2 separate regions of the Homo sapiens genome follow, and region 1 is linked to region 2. The links are contacts of gene promoters, found by promoter capture Hi-C in blood cells and fetal thymus (Javierre and others, 2016). All regions are on one chromosome and are shown on one strand. Each heading gives the region's core, a stretch centred on a gene start or on the middle of the fragment in contact. The rest is flanking DNA. Distances are from core to core; before and after follow the strand shown. Region 1 holds the start of LTBP2 (latent transforming growth factor beta binding protein 2). Region 2 holds the start of TTLL5 (tubulin tyrosine ligase like 5).

What was found. Contacts are between HindIII fragments. The CHiCAGO score rates a contact against its expected background, and 5 or more counts as called.
Region 1: a contact is called between the fragment with the promoter of LTBP2 here and the fragment with the promoter of TTLL5 in region 2, in 1 of 17 cell types (neutrophils). The highest score is 5.3, in neutrophils.

The regions. Positions count from the first base shown.
Region 1 is chr14:74,610,878-74,617,443 of GRCh38, forward strand. It overlaps LTBP2 (latent transforming growth factor beta binding protein 2), which reads right to left and starts at 1,360. Exons shown (of 36, transcript NM_000428.3): 1 at 574-1,360. The coding sequence starts at 1,067. LOC101928352 (a long non-coding RNA gene) reads left to right here and starts at 2,308. Exons shown (of 2, transcript XR_944029.4): 1 at 2,308-2,418; 2 at 2,690-3,171. RefSeq lists an enhancer at 1,416-2,043 and a silencer at 1,671-1,990. The HindIII fragment of the contact is 11,176 bases long and covers 1-5,524 here.
Region 2 is chr14:75,658,010-75,664,384 of GRCh38, forward strand. TTLL5 (tubulin tyrosine ligase like 5) reads left to right here and starts at 3,237. Exons shown (of 32, transcript NM_015072.5): 1 at 3,237-3,378; 2 at 5,046-5,214. The coding sequence starts at 5,141. ERG28 (ergosterol biosynthesis 28 homolog) reads right to left here and starts at 2,867. Exons shown (of 5, transcript NM_007176.4): 1 at 2,766-2,867. RefSeq lists a silencer at 2,929-2,978 and an enhancer at 3,089-3,308. The HindIII fragment of the contact is 4,369 bases long and covers 2,244-6,375 here.

The DNA of each region.
Region 1 (6,566 bases), core at 110-2,609, 1.0 Mb before region 2:
AGAGCTCACGCCCACGCCCGCATCCAGCCCTCAGCGTGCGCAGGCCGACCCACGCCCCACGACACTTGTCCCGACGCACCAGCTTCGCTGCCGGCTCCCCTCCTGGAGACGCATCTACCTTCTCTCCATGGGGCCCCCGACACCTCCGCCAACCCGCGCTCTGAGCCAGCTCAACCTCCCCTGGGCGTCAAGAGCCTGGAGCGCCCACCCTCCTGCCCTCTCCCCGCTGCCTCTCAGATCCCGGCAGCGCTGCAAGAGTCTACAAGAGCTCGTTAGTTGCAGGCAGGAGGAACGCGGGCGAGTGGAGAGGCGCCTTGCGAAAGGATTTAACGTCGGGGCTCCGGGAGAGTTGGTAAGAAAGGATGAGGATGATGATCTATCTGCCTTCAACTCTTCGAAAGCGGATCAAATCTTCCAATCCCGATTTTGGAACCTCGGGGCTGTTTCCCGAAGTACTAAAGACAGAGGGACGAGGGTATGAGAGCGGCGCCCTCTCCTCTCGCCTGCACGCCCCTCCACAAATGAGCCCTGGCTCCCCTCTGTACCCTCCAAACTTCCCTCTCCCATGCTCACCCCGTGAGCCGCCCTCGCGGCGGGGTTGGGGGCGCAGCCCCAGACCGCTGTGGGGTCCCCAGGCGTGGGAGAGCCGGCGCGGCCCGGGTCCGGGGTGCTGGTTGCTGCTGGCCCAGGGGAGTGCTTCTCCGGGTCTGCGCAGGTGGCTGGACACGCCGCGACTGCTGCGCGCGGGACGGCCTCCTGGCCTCCGCCTCGGTGGGCCTCCTGGGGCTCCCCCAGCCCGGCTGGGCCCGCTCCACGGGCTGCAAGCCCGCGACAGGCGCGTCCTGCTCCCGGAACAGACTGTACACCTTGGCTGCAGCCGCTGCCGGGTAGCTGCCCCCAGGGCGCCGCAGTCGATTCGCGTCTCCACCAGCCGGCTCGTATCTCCCTACGGGGTCCCTTTGGGCATGACCCGCGCCCACGAAGAGAGCCAGGGTGAGCGGCAGGAAGCCTCTCCAGGGGTTCCGCAGGGCGCGCCCCGGGCTGCGGGCTTTGGTCCGCGGCCTCATGGCGCGGGGCGGCTGGAGAGTGGTGCGCGCGGGCACCGCGAAGAGCTTTGTGGTCGGCACGCTGGACGCCCGCGGGCTGTTCTCCCGGCCCCGCCCGGCGGCCAGCTTCTCTGAGTCTAGGGGGCCCTGAAGCGGCCGACTGGGGGCCCGGCTCTCGGCGGAACGAGGGCTGCGCGCCCCGAGCCTCGAGTCCGCGCTCCTACTCCAGCTGGGCTCGCACGGCTGCTGCACCTTCGCGCCTCCTCCCTGTGCCTGCAGCCGTCTGAAGGGGACCCGGACGGTTTTATTTTTGGAAACCTCCCCCGGCTTTTTCGTCTCTTTTATCCACACCAGGCCCCCTCCTCGGAGGGACAGCTCAGCCCCCTCATTACCGGAGAGGGAGCGAGGAATTCCAGCAACACCCACTTTGGCACCGGGAAGCCAGCGGGCGGCGAGCGGGCGGCGAGGGGGATTAACCCGTGCGGAGCAGGGGGCGGCGCGGGGCTGACCCAGGCGCTGGTCGGGCAGATGGCGCCTGCCACGACCGGGACACTGGGCCGCCTTTCTCCTGCTCTGGGCAAGTTCGAACTGCAGACCTGCCCCGAATCGTTCTCCCGCCCCTCGCCTCAGGGACCGTCTTTGGATCGGGGGACCCAGGCTGCAGCCTTGCAGGTCTGAAGGAAGCCGGGAGGGGCGCCGAGGCCCGCGTAGGGGAACAGGGCCGCCGCCCCCTCCGCTTGCGCCCTGGCCGCTGGGGGCGCCCTCCGCAGGGCCGGCCGGAGCGGGGGTGGCGCGGGGCGGGGCGCGGCGCGCGGAGCGCAGGGAGGTCCCGGGCGCGCCCCCTGGCGGAGCTGGCGGCCCTGGCGCTCCGTGGCTGCAATGCCCTGGCGCCGCCGCCTTCGCTCTGGATCTCAATCCCCTTCCACTGGCGTGAGGGTCACGCCTGAGCCTGGCGCGGTGATGGCTGCCGGTAGAAGAGGGGTCCTCTTTTTCTTTTTCTTTTTCTTTTCTTTCTTTCTTTCTTTCTTTTTTTTGAGACGGAGTTTCGCTCTTGTTGCCCAGGCTGGAGTGCAATGGTGCGATCTCAGCTCCCCGCAACCTCCGCCTCCCGGGTTCAAGCGATTCCCCTGCCTCAGCCTCCCTAGTAGCTGGGATTACAGGCATGCGCCACCAAGTCTGACTAATTTTGTATATTATTTTATTTTTTAGTACAGACGGGGTTTCTCCATGTTGGTCAGGCTGGTCTCGAACTCCCAACCTCAGGTGATCCGCCCGCCTCGGCCTCCCAAAGTGCTGGGATTAAAGGCGTGAGCCACCACGCCCGGCCAAGGGGTCCTCTTTTTCACCGAGGCAAAGACACGGAGCCTCTTGAGTAAGTCACTCAAGGAGATAGCGCATGTGAAAGAGGGGAGTGGAATCTAGGCCTCCCGCCTCTGGCTGAATCCATTCCCGGGATCCCACCCAGCCCTTCACTCTCTCGGGAATTTCCCAGAGGGGGATTCGGTGACCCCGATTGACCCAGTGTGTGCATTCACATCTTGTGTTAGCAGGGAGGCGGGCAGGGGTGTGGGAATGCTGACTGCCGCTGTCTGCGTGTCCCCAGTAATCAGCACACCATTCTCACCCATGCTCCCTCCCTACAGCCTAAAGGCTTGGATCAACAGGGCTGCCCCTGGCACATTTGTACAGCCTATTTCCCAGAGAGGCAGAGTGAAGGAGCTGGCATGTGGGCACCAGTTCACAACCTCCCACACCACACAAAAGACAAGCCCAGGTAATATCTACTGTTGAAATAAAGCCTCGACCCCTGGCCTTGGCCTACAAACCCTAGCTGGCTGCCCCCGCTCTGATTTCATCTGGCCTCTTGCTCTCCCTTACCCACCACACTGTGCTGCCTTGGCCCTCTCTCTGCTCCTTGAACAAGCCAAGTGAATGCCCCCTTCCCTCTACTGGAAGGTTCCTCTCCAGGATGTTAGAGGGTAGTTCCTCATCACTGCTCCTCTCAGATTAAATATCAGCTCCTGGAGTAGCCATCCCTGACCTCCAATCTAGAGCAGCCCTCCCTCACCCCAGTCATGACTCTAACACACCACCCTGTTTCATCTTCATAAAACAGTTGACATCATCTTGTTATTGATTTGTTTGCTCGTGTAACTGAATTTTTTAATGGGCTGAACCTAAAGAGGGACTATCCAGAAACTGCTCCACTACTACCTTCAACCATATTATGGTAAATTTCCCTTTCCCACCCTTAATGACATCTCAGGCAGAGTCCTTGGCTTGAGAGGTCATCCCTACCAGACACGAGAACTATTCTATTAATATAATTAAGACCCATTTTCAGACACAAAAAGTCTGCTCCTGTCCAGATCAAAATCTCATCCAAGTTAATCAATATCACATCCCATTTAATAGTCCTCCTCTCCCCTGTCCCTTTGCTAGAGATCCTGCAGTGGTGAGAGTGGGGTGTGGTCTGTTTTCCTGACCTCCCTTTTCTGCTGTGGCTCCTCTTTGTCAAGGCTGGGAGAGAGGTGTTAGAGGAAAAGTAGCAAAGTCTTATGTGACAGGTACCCTTGGTTGGCAGGTGCCAAGCGCTGGCTTTTTCATGGGCACATATGTGGGTTTTTGGGAGGTTCTCTACAGGACCTCCACCCTGAGTTGCCATAGCAAATTACTCTCTGGCCAACCTCTCGGAGACCCCTGCATCCTCTGTCTCTCATAGGACTGTCCCACCTATGCCAGGCAAAACAATGGTGGGTTGGCCGCTCCTCACCCTGCCCACTTCTCACCTTGCCACACAGGCCACTCCAGCGAGGCTCCACGATCAGAATTCTCCAGACAGGAAGTGCACACAAGTCTCTTCATTTATGTACGTCCTCAATTCCTAAAGACATATGTTGGGTTCTCCCATGAACTGTCTTGCTGTAGTTTAATGCACCGAGGTGCCTGTAACATCCAGCAACATAGTCAGCATCAGTGGGGGGACAGTTATAGGGACAGAGCCTCCTCTTCTTGCAGATGACTGGTTCTCTCTGGGAGCTCCCTTCATTTGGTTTGAGTTGGGGAGTTCCCTCAGGGGAAATCTCAGCCCTGCCCACAAATGCAGCAGTGTTATGCTTCAGTGACTTTCTTCAATCCCTTTCATTTGTAGACTGGAATTGAGGGATGTAGTTTGATTGCTGTTGAACCTGTTCTGCCTTTAGTAAGGTGTCTAGTACTTCTCTTCAGAATGCAAGAATATTTAGCCCTCATTGTTCTATCTTTGTGGCTTCAGCAGATATTCCAAGAGCAGAGGAAAAGTCCTATTCAACAACCTATAAAATCATTTCTTGTCTGACTTCCCAAACCACAATGACAGCTCTAAAGCAACAGATATCTTGTCTGCGTTGCTCACCACTGTTTCTGCAGAACCTAGAACAGCCAAGAAGTATGTGTGAAATGGATAGCTAACTGAATGAAGGACACAGTAATCCCATCAAGTGGGGAGGGCTGGTATCATTAGACCCATTTTAAGAGAGAGGAACTGAGTTCTGGGTGGCAGCTCCTGATCCAGGTTCATGTGCTTGCTGCCTTTGGGGCTGGCTCTAAAGATCTCCTTGAACCCTACCCCTTGCATTTGACCATGAATGCCCCTTAGTTCCCAGAATGCTGCGTTCTGTTCCTGGGATGCTGCTCCTTCACAGCTGTGGAAGCCCCAGGTCCACACTTACCTCTCCTTGCCCAGATATCCACCCACCTCTGTAGTTCTGGGCTCCCTTCCTCTCCCCGGAACCTACCCACTTCCTTCAGAAGCTCCCCTCTAGATCCCTCAAGACCCACCTCAGATCCCCGTGGGCCTCCAAAAGCCAGAAACCTTGGCATCATCTTCGTCCCTGAGCTATTTTTTCCTCCTGTGTGTCCAAGTCATTATTACTGCTCCGTCTCCTCCGTCTGCATTTCTGGAAGTCTGCCGCCCATTCATCCCTCACCCTTCGCCTCCGCCAAAACCCTCACGCAGACCAACTTTCCCTCACCATCGGGCGCCCCTTCCACTCCTCAGTGAGTACAAGTGGTCCTTGGACGTTCCCACCCTGTTCGCCTGGGGACCATAACCCAGTTCATCTACTCCAAAGACTGGCATCTTCTACCCCATCCCGGCGCCACACTCTGTCCTGCCACCTACTTACTGCCCATATCTCCCTTACCCTCTAACTGCTGGGACTGATTGCAGCTCTTCAGAATCTCCAATCCCACAAACACTTGAGTTTTGCTTTTTTTTTTTAACCTGCCAAAATCGATAGAGCCTACTTTAGTCCAAACGCCATACTAAGCATGTTACATCAATTGGCTGATTTAACCAACCAAAGGAGGCATTATGATTTCCACGCATACAAAGGAGGAAACTGAGGTTGGCAATGGCTACTGGCTTGCCCAAGATGGCACAGCTGATAAATAGCAGAGGCAGGATTCAAACCTGGATCATTTTCCACCTGAGCCCAAGCTTTTAAGGTTACACCGCCTTGCCTCCACCCCGGGCTTGTAAGCCTGGAGCCCTCTTCACAATTGAATCATGACCTTTCCAACCACCCCACCACTATCACCACCAAAGGAGCTCTAGGGCATATCCCCAAATGCCCTCTTCCCTGCCTGCCAGCCCACTGTTCATGTACCTGGAGCTCATGTACCTGGAGATGTGGAGTTATCAGAACTTTCTGCCACCCTTAATCCTCTTGGCCCAGTGAAAGAAGGGAAGCTGTTTCAGCATGGCCGCTGACTCACCGTGTGTCACTTCCCCACCCCCTGATTAAAGCCTTCTCCCTCATTAGATCGCTGCTAAGCCTACTCACCCATCTCTTGGGTCTGGAGAGGAAAATCATCTCTGGAAAACCCGGCAGAGAGAGTCTAAAGGGTTGATAAAGAGATTCCAGCAGGGAAAGGTTTGCCCAGACACATGCCCCATGCAAGGGACAGCAGTCTCCTGGACTCCCAGGGCAAACTCACTGCTTTTCCATGTCTCACTGGAATAATGTTGGCAGCCAGAGGTCTACCAGAACCTGAGCTAATTTGGTAAATAAGGACCAAAAACAAGGGCCACATTTCGGCCCCCTTTGCTGAGACCCAGACTCCTGAAAGAATTCCAGGGATTTTTCTTGCTTGGAAGTAACTGGACCTCCAGCCCTGAATTCCTCTCCCCAGGAGAGCTTGTTCCCCTGCTCAGAACAAATAACACATTTCCTGGTTAATCAGAGGGCAGAATCGCTGAAGGAAAGTTTGACTGGGCCCCCAGCCTTCCAGACGGGAGCCGCTCATGGGCTTGGATGTTCTGCTCCAGACACTGGGCAGCTGGGACCCCAGCACTGCGCAGCCTCAGCCTCCAGTTTGGAAGGTGCAGGCCGTACAGAGAGGTGCCGACTCCCTCCTGTGTGAGGTTGTTAAGGCCCGCAAAGGCTGCCAGAACCATTCCACCTTAGGTGCCATGACCTGGCGTCCCCTCAAGAATTCACAACCACCCTGCCCTGGTCTGCCGGTGCCTGTCTCCTC
Region 2 (6,375 bases), core at 1,987-4,486:
TAAAAATAAACTGCTGTGTGTCAACTCCAAATAAAATCCTAAGCCCATCACGGACTGAACAGAGCCCCTCTTGGCCTAGGGGACCCCAGAAAAATCCTAAAACTGAGCTCCTGGCCATGACAAGATGGGAGGTCTGACATGCCCTGTTATATTCGTTGTGTTTTCAGGTTTAGAGACAGCAACTTACCAGCATTAAAGTTAAAATAGAGATCATAAGAATGACACAACAGATTCTTTGTGCAATAAGATACCAAATTATAAACAAGACCTAAGGCCATGCCAGGCAAGGGTTAAGTTACACACTCCTACATTTAAAGAATAAAAGTTATATTCTGCCACAAGGTTTTTTTTTTCTCCAGCAGCTAGATGAACACTGGCCTTGAGATAAGCAATATTAAAACAATTGCAGCTCATCCAGCTCACAGAGGCTGACTACCTGACCCCTGTTCCACCAGTTGTAACTACAGCTTTGATTGGACAAGAGACTGATTTCAGTAATTTTCTCCAGATAAGACCACCAACCGTGGACTGCTCCTGGCCAGTTTAGCAGGATCACACACTTGAGTGTCTTGGTGTCCTGAAAAGACTTTTTGACGTATAGAGCCTAGGTGTGATAGACTTAAATGTTAGGTCTCCACTCCAAAGTGAACAGGGTTCATATGTGGTTACATATGTTTGTTCAATATGCATGTGTCAGGACAACCTTCAGGAATATTCACAGCTCCTCCTGTAACCTGTCGAATGTGTATGTTTAGCAAACCTGTTCAGCATGAAGCTCTACCCCAAACCCTTCTCCTTCAAAGTAACTGTCTCTGGTCTTGGTGGGAGGCACTCTTCCCTGTTGGGTGGCTGTAACCCTTTGCAAGAGATAAAGCCTCTTTTCCTTTTTTCCAAATTTATAAATTGTGTGTGTTTAAGTTAACGTGTGAGTTTAGGACTAGTAAGAAAATTATATAGCGAAGGAAACAGCAATCTTGGTGTTGGGTTGCAAGAAAATAATAGGTTTCAGTCATTGAGCACTTACACCGTGAACTGTGCCAAGCACCTAACATATATTACCATTTAATCTTTACAATGAGGTAAGCAGGCACTATTAATATTTCCATCTTACAGATGAGGGTTGGAACAGAGAGGTTAAACAAGTTTCTTAAGGTCACACAGCAAAGTTGGCAGAGCTGAGATAAGAATCATGGTCTGCTGGACTGCTGCAGTGCTACCTCATTGTTTGAGACTATTTTAATGAAGTTCCCATTTTTTGAGAAAGAAAAGCATACCATATCCACTTTTGTCTTCAAGTTGTATGGAAAATACAATTAGATTACATACTTTTTGTTTTTTAATTTATTATTTATTTATTTATTTTTTTGAGACAGGGTCTTGCTCTGTCACACAGGCTGGAATGCAGTGGCATAGTCATGGCTCATTGCAGCCTTGAAATCAAAGGCTTAAGTGATCCTCCTACCTCAACCTCTCCACTTGGGCTCAACTGATCCACTCACCTTGGCCTCGCCTCCCAAATGCTGGGATTACAGGTGTGAGCTACAGCACCCAGCCTTTTTTTTTTTTTTTTTAAGGCTTAGTTCAACTCTTGTTGAGTAGTAATTTCAGTTAGTCTGATTTAAATAAAACCAAAATAGATAAATAATCTAATAATGGAATGACTTTTTCCCATCCTCATTATTATTTTCTTGGTCCACGGTTTATCTGTTGTCAGGTTAACCTCTTGGGCCTGAAGTGGTAATAAACTAACAGGCTTTCTTTGTCACTTTGGCAATACAAGTTTCGGTATTGTTCTCTGCTACCCAGTGGGACAGATATTAAAGTCAGCAATGGCCCAAGACAGTGTGAAACACCGCCGCCCCCCCCCGCCAACTCCCCGCCCCAAACAAGCAATAAAGAGATCTAGAGAAGGAAGGGTGAATTGATGAGCCCTTCAGGGAGAGCTGGATCACAAAGGTGGTCTCTGTCGAAGATCAGAGAGACTGAGGGTCTACTGGACATCACAGGCCATTATCATTTGGGCCAAGATCCACCCATCCTCTTTATTTTCTCACTCTCTCTCAAGAGGAGACTCCTCCGGGGTTTAGAAAAGCTGCATGGATGCACCTCTCCACTTTTCTGCACAAGTATGCCTTCCATTTCACAGAAGTGTTATCTGTTAGAAATCCCAACAGATAGCTGATGAGGACAGAGCCTGAGCACTTCTGAATTGCTCTGCCAATTTCTCAACCTAATTTCCCTAAAGCTTAAGGGCCTCTTAGAGTGTATACAACATCTATTTCCAAATTTTGTCCTGGCCCTGGCCCAGCCCAGCCAAGCCCAGCCCAGCATAGGTGTGCTGTTAAAACTTAATCAGGAGAAAGGGATTCTTATCCTGGCCCTACCACTTAGTAGCTGTGTGACCCTGGGTAAGTCATTTACACTTTTCAGTCTCGGTTTCCTCATCTGCAAAATGGAGATAGAAATATCAACCCGAAGGGCTATTGTAAGAATTATATGACAAAAAGTGAAGGCTCTTTGTACAGTGCTAGGCTCATAGTGGCTGCTCATTCGCTCATCCATTCCTTCGTTCCTTGAATTCACCAAGCCTTCTCCATCTTCCTAGCTCCCCCTTGTCATCGCCTCTCGAAACCTTTTCCCCCCAAAAGGTTGCCTTCCAGTTATCTTCCTTCCATCCCACCTCCATTTTTCCAGACTCTCCGGATCCTCTCAATCAGAAGCAACACAGACACCTACATCCCTCTTCTCCCCCATATTCTCCTTACCTGGCGACCGGGCCCCCAGCACAGCAGTGGCAGCAGCAGCCGCTGCCGCAAACAAGCTCCCCCAGGACAGCTCCAGCCCGGAGTCCACCTGAGCCATTTGTCCCCGCCCCCTCCCTCAGCCCTGCTCCAGGATTGGGCCGTTTCCGTCAGTACTCTCTCTGATTGGCTGTCCCGGTTTCGCCCGAGCAGGAGATGGGGAGTGAACCCCTTTACTGCCAATCAGCGGTTGCCGCTGCCTAAGCCTCTCCCCAGGTACGCCGCTCACGCCGTAAGCCCTCCTGTTGGACCTAGCGGAACTCCGGGTTTGGAGTCAACCTCTTAGGGGCGGAGAAAAAAACAGCGGAAAAAAAAAAAAAAAAGAAGACTCCCTTCAGCTGAGGGCAGGGCTCTGCGCCCGCGCTGCGCGGCGGTGACGACATTCGCCCGCGTCCGCAGCTGAGCGTTATGAGCGCCTGCGCAGTGGCTCCGAGCGGGCGGTTGCTTGTTGGTTGTTGTAGTAACCGGGGAAGCAGCCGTCGGCGGCTGCCCTGAGCCTTCCTGGGGAAGGAGGAGGGAGGTAGGCGCAGAGCGCGGTCCACGCCTGCTCGCCCCGAACCATGGGAAGATGAGACAGGTAAACGCCTGCGCCCGCGCGCTTCCCTACCCTAGGGAGGAGCATTCCCGGGTCCGGGCTGGCGCCTGCAGCAGGACTTCCCGCTCAGAGCCCGGGAGTAGCTGTTGGCTTCCGGGCGCGCCGCGTTGAATCGCGGCTGCGGGGTCGTCCCGTCCTTCCCGGGGGGAGCATCTGCGGACCTACGTGGGATTGGGGTGAGCTGGGGGTGGGGCTGAGAAGCAGATTCCTTTCGGGAGAGGAGTCTCCTTAGGTGAGTATCTCTACTCTTCTTCCGATAGACCTGTTTCTCCCCGCTCTGCAGGCAGCCTAGGAGAGGTTGGCATCCCTTCCCGTTTGGAGGTTTTGTTTGTTTAAACTTAAAGGGCTTCCCAGCATTTTGGGAAAGATCAAGAAATCCCGTTGAGAATCCCCTGAAGAAAGCCATTGAAGTTGTTAGACATTGCCTATTGCGCCGAAGATCTTTGATCATTATCGGGGTCTGTTTTTTTTTTGTCTTATTTACAGTCTCATCGTATTTATGAATGCATGGAAAAGTTAAGAAGGATTGACAGCAAGTAATTATCGCTGAGTAATTTGGGATTATGGTCATTTAAACATGTTTCTTTTATTTGTAGTTCCTATTTCTTCTTCTGACACACACAACGAACATGTACTTTTTTACTTTAGAAAAAATATTTTAAGTTAGAAATGCAGTGTTGGAAATTTCCTAATTTCATCGTCTATTTGAGAGTCGTACCAAACTTTGTGATTTTTAGGAAGAATAATTTTTAAGAGTGGAAGGGCATTCCTCCCCTCCCCCACCTATTTATATGGACCTTTGATTCAAGAGAATATATTCATCTTTCGGTTCATTGTTGAATTTATTTTACTGGAAACATGATGGCATCTTGTCAGCGTGCTTGTCATAGAGTCTAAATAAATGTTGGCAGGGGTTTTTTGTTGTTTTTTTTTTTTTGAGACGGAGTTCACTCTTGTTGCCCAGGCTGGAGTGCAATGGCGCGATCTTGGCTCACCGCAACCTCCGCCTCCCGGGTTCAAGCGATTCTCCTCCCTCAGCCTCCCGAGTAGCTGGGATTACAGGCATGAGCCAGCACACCCGGCTAATTTTTTGTATTTTTTTTTTTTTTTTTTAGTAAAGACGGGGTTTCTCCATGTTAGTCAGGCTGGTCTCGAACTCCCGACCTCAGGTGATCCGCCCGCCTTGGCCTCCCAAAGTACTGGGATTACAGGCGTGAGCCACCCTGCCCGGCCTGCAAGGGTCTTAAACCTTGAGTTTTTATTTATTTATTTTTAACCCAGGCCAGGTTTGTCTAGCAAGGAATATATGTTTTAGGGAATCAGTCACCTGCCTCAAACTGAGTGAAAGTGAGGAGTCTATCCTTTTGGTGCATATTCGATTTAGTAAATAATGAGAAACTCAAACTTAGTAACAGCTCTTCAAATATATAGAGCACAGACTGTATGTTTGAAAAAAATCTTGATTTTTGTGGCATATTGAGGCACATATTGAGGCACATTCCATATGTTATGGAAAGTAAACTTCTAGAGGTTGAGCACTGTTTAGGAATATAGTCATTTTCATTACTTAGATTATCAGCAATAACCAATAAATAGACAACTGCATTGTGTTTCAGGTCAATTGATCCAATCAAGTTGATTTCTTGCAGGAATCTGTGCCATCCAAATTGCTTGATCCAGTGAATCTGCTAGGAAAGGTCTCTGAGGCCCCCGTCTGCTGACTGCATGACAAACCCTAAAGGAAATGCCAATCGTGATGGCCCGGGACCTGGAGGAAACAGCATCATCCTCAGAGGATGAGGAGGTCATAAGTCAAGAGTAAGTAATAGCAAGCCTGCTTTCAACCTGTGCTTTGTACTCTTTCACTTATATACTCTTATATACTGTTTTACTATATACTCTTCTCTTTTACTTATGTACTCTTTTATCTAGTGTCATTCCTTGGGGATTATCTAACTCTGGTTTTAGCTTCTATCCATAATGTCATTTAAGGTCTTGTTACTCAGTCCCTATCAGCTATGAGAAATGAGATAAGGCTCTCTTTCTGGGCCCATAAGTGAACATCAGCTCTAGATGTTGTAAAATGCAAGTAGTAGCTCTTGGTGAACTCTTGCTCAGAACTCCCAACAGAAGATTTTGAAATGTTTAAGTATTGAAGAAAAGCATGTCCAAACTCTACAACATTAGTTACGTTTGCTAATTTTCTCAAAAGCCTTTACAATGATAAAATGGTGGTAATATAGAGAGGTCAGGTAACTTACCATAGTAACTCTGAGGCAGGATATTAGAGTTCTATAGCCTGTGTTGTGTCCATTGACCCACACTGCTTTCCTGAGTTCTTTTAGTTAAGAGTCCAATTTCATGATTACTGGATCATCACAATAAGAATGAATAATAGCTAGGTGTGTTGGCTTATGCCTGTAATCCCAGCACTTTGGGTAGCCGAGGTGAGCGGATCACCTGAGGTCAGGAGTTCAAGACCAGCCTGGCCAACATGGTGAAACCCCATCTCTACTAAAAAAACAGAAATTAGCTGGGCGTGATGGTGGGTATCTGTAATCTCAGCTACTCGGGAGGCTGAGACAGGAGAATGGCTTGAACCTGGGAGGTGGAGGTTGCAGTGAGCTGAGATCTCACCATTGCACTCCAGCCCGGGCAACAAGAGCAAACCTCCATCTCAAAAAAAAAAAAAAGAATGATAATGATAAATATAGCTACTACAGATGACGATAAAGGCTTTATCTCATCTATATCTTATATCTTTTTAAATCTGAAGGTGTTATTATTTTCACTTTTTTAAACTCAGTCTTATCAGGAAATTTCCTCAGTGACCCATAGAGAGTAAGTGATGCATTGAGATTTGGACTTAGCTTTTCTGGATTTTGATCACTTTGCTCTTTTGCCTCCTTTAATTATTGCTTGACACAGAGTAAAGAGAGAATCTGGTTTAAAGGTAAAATTCATTTTTAAGATTCTCCC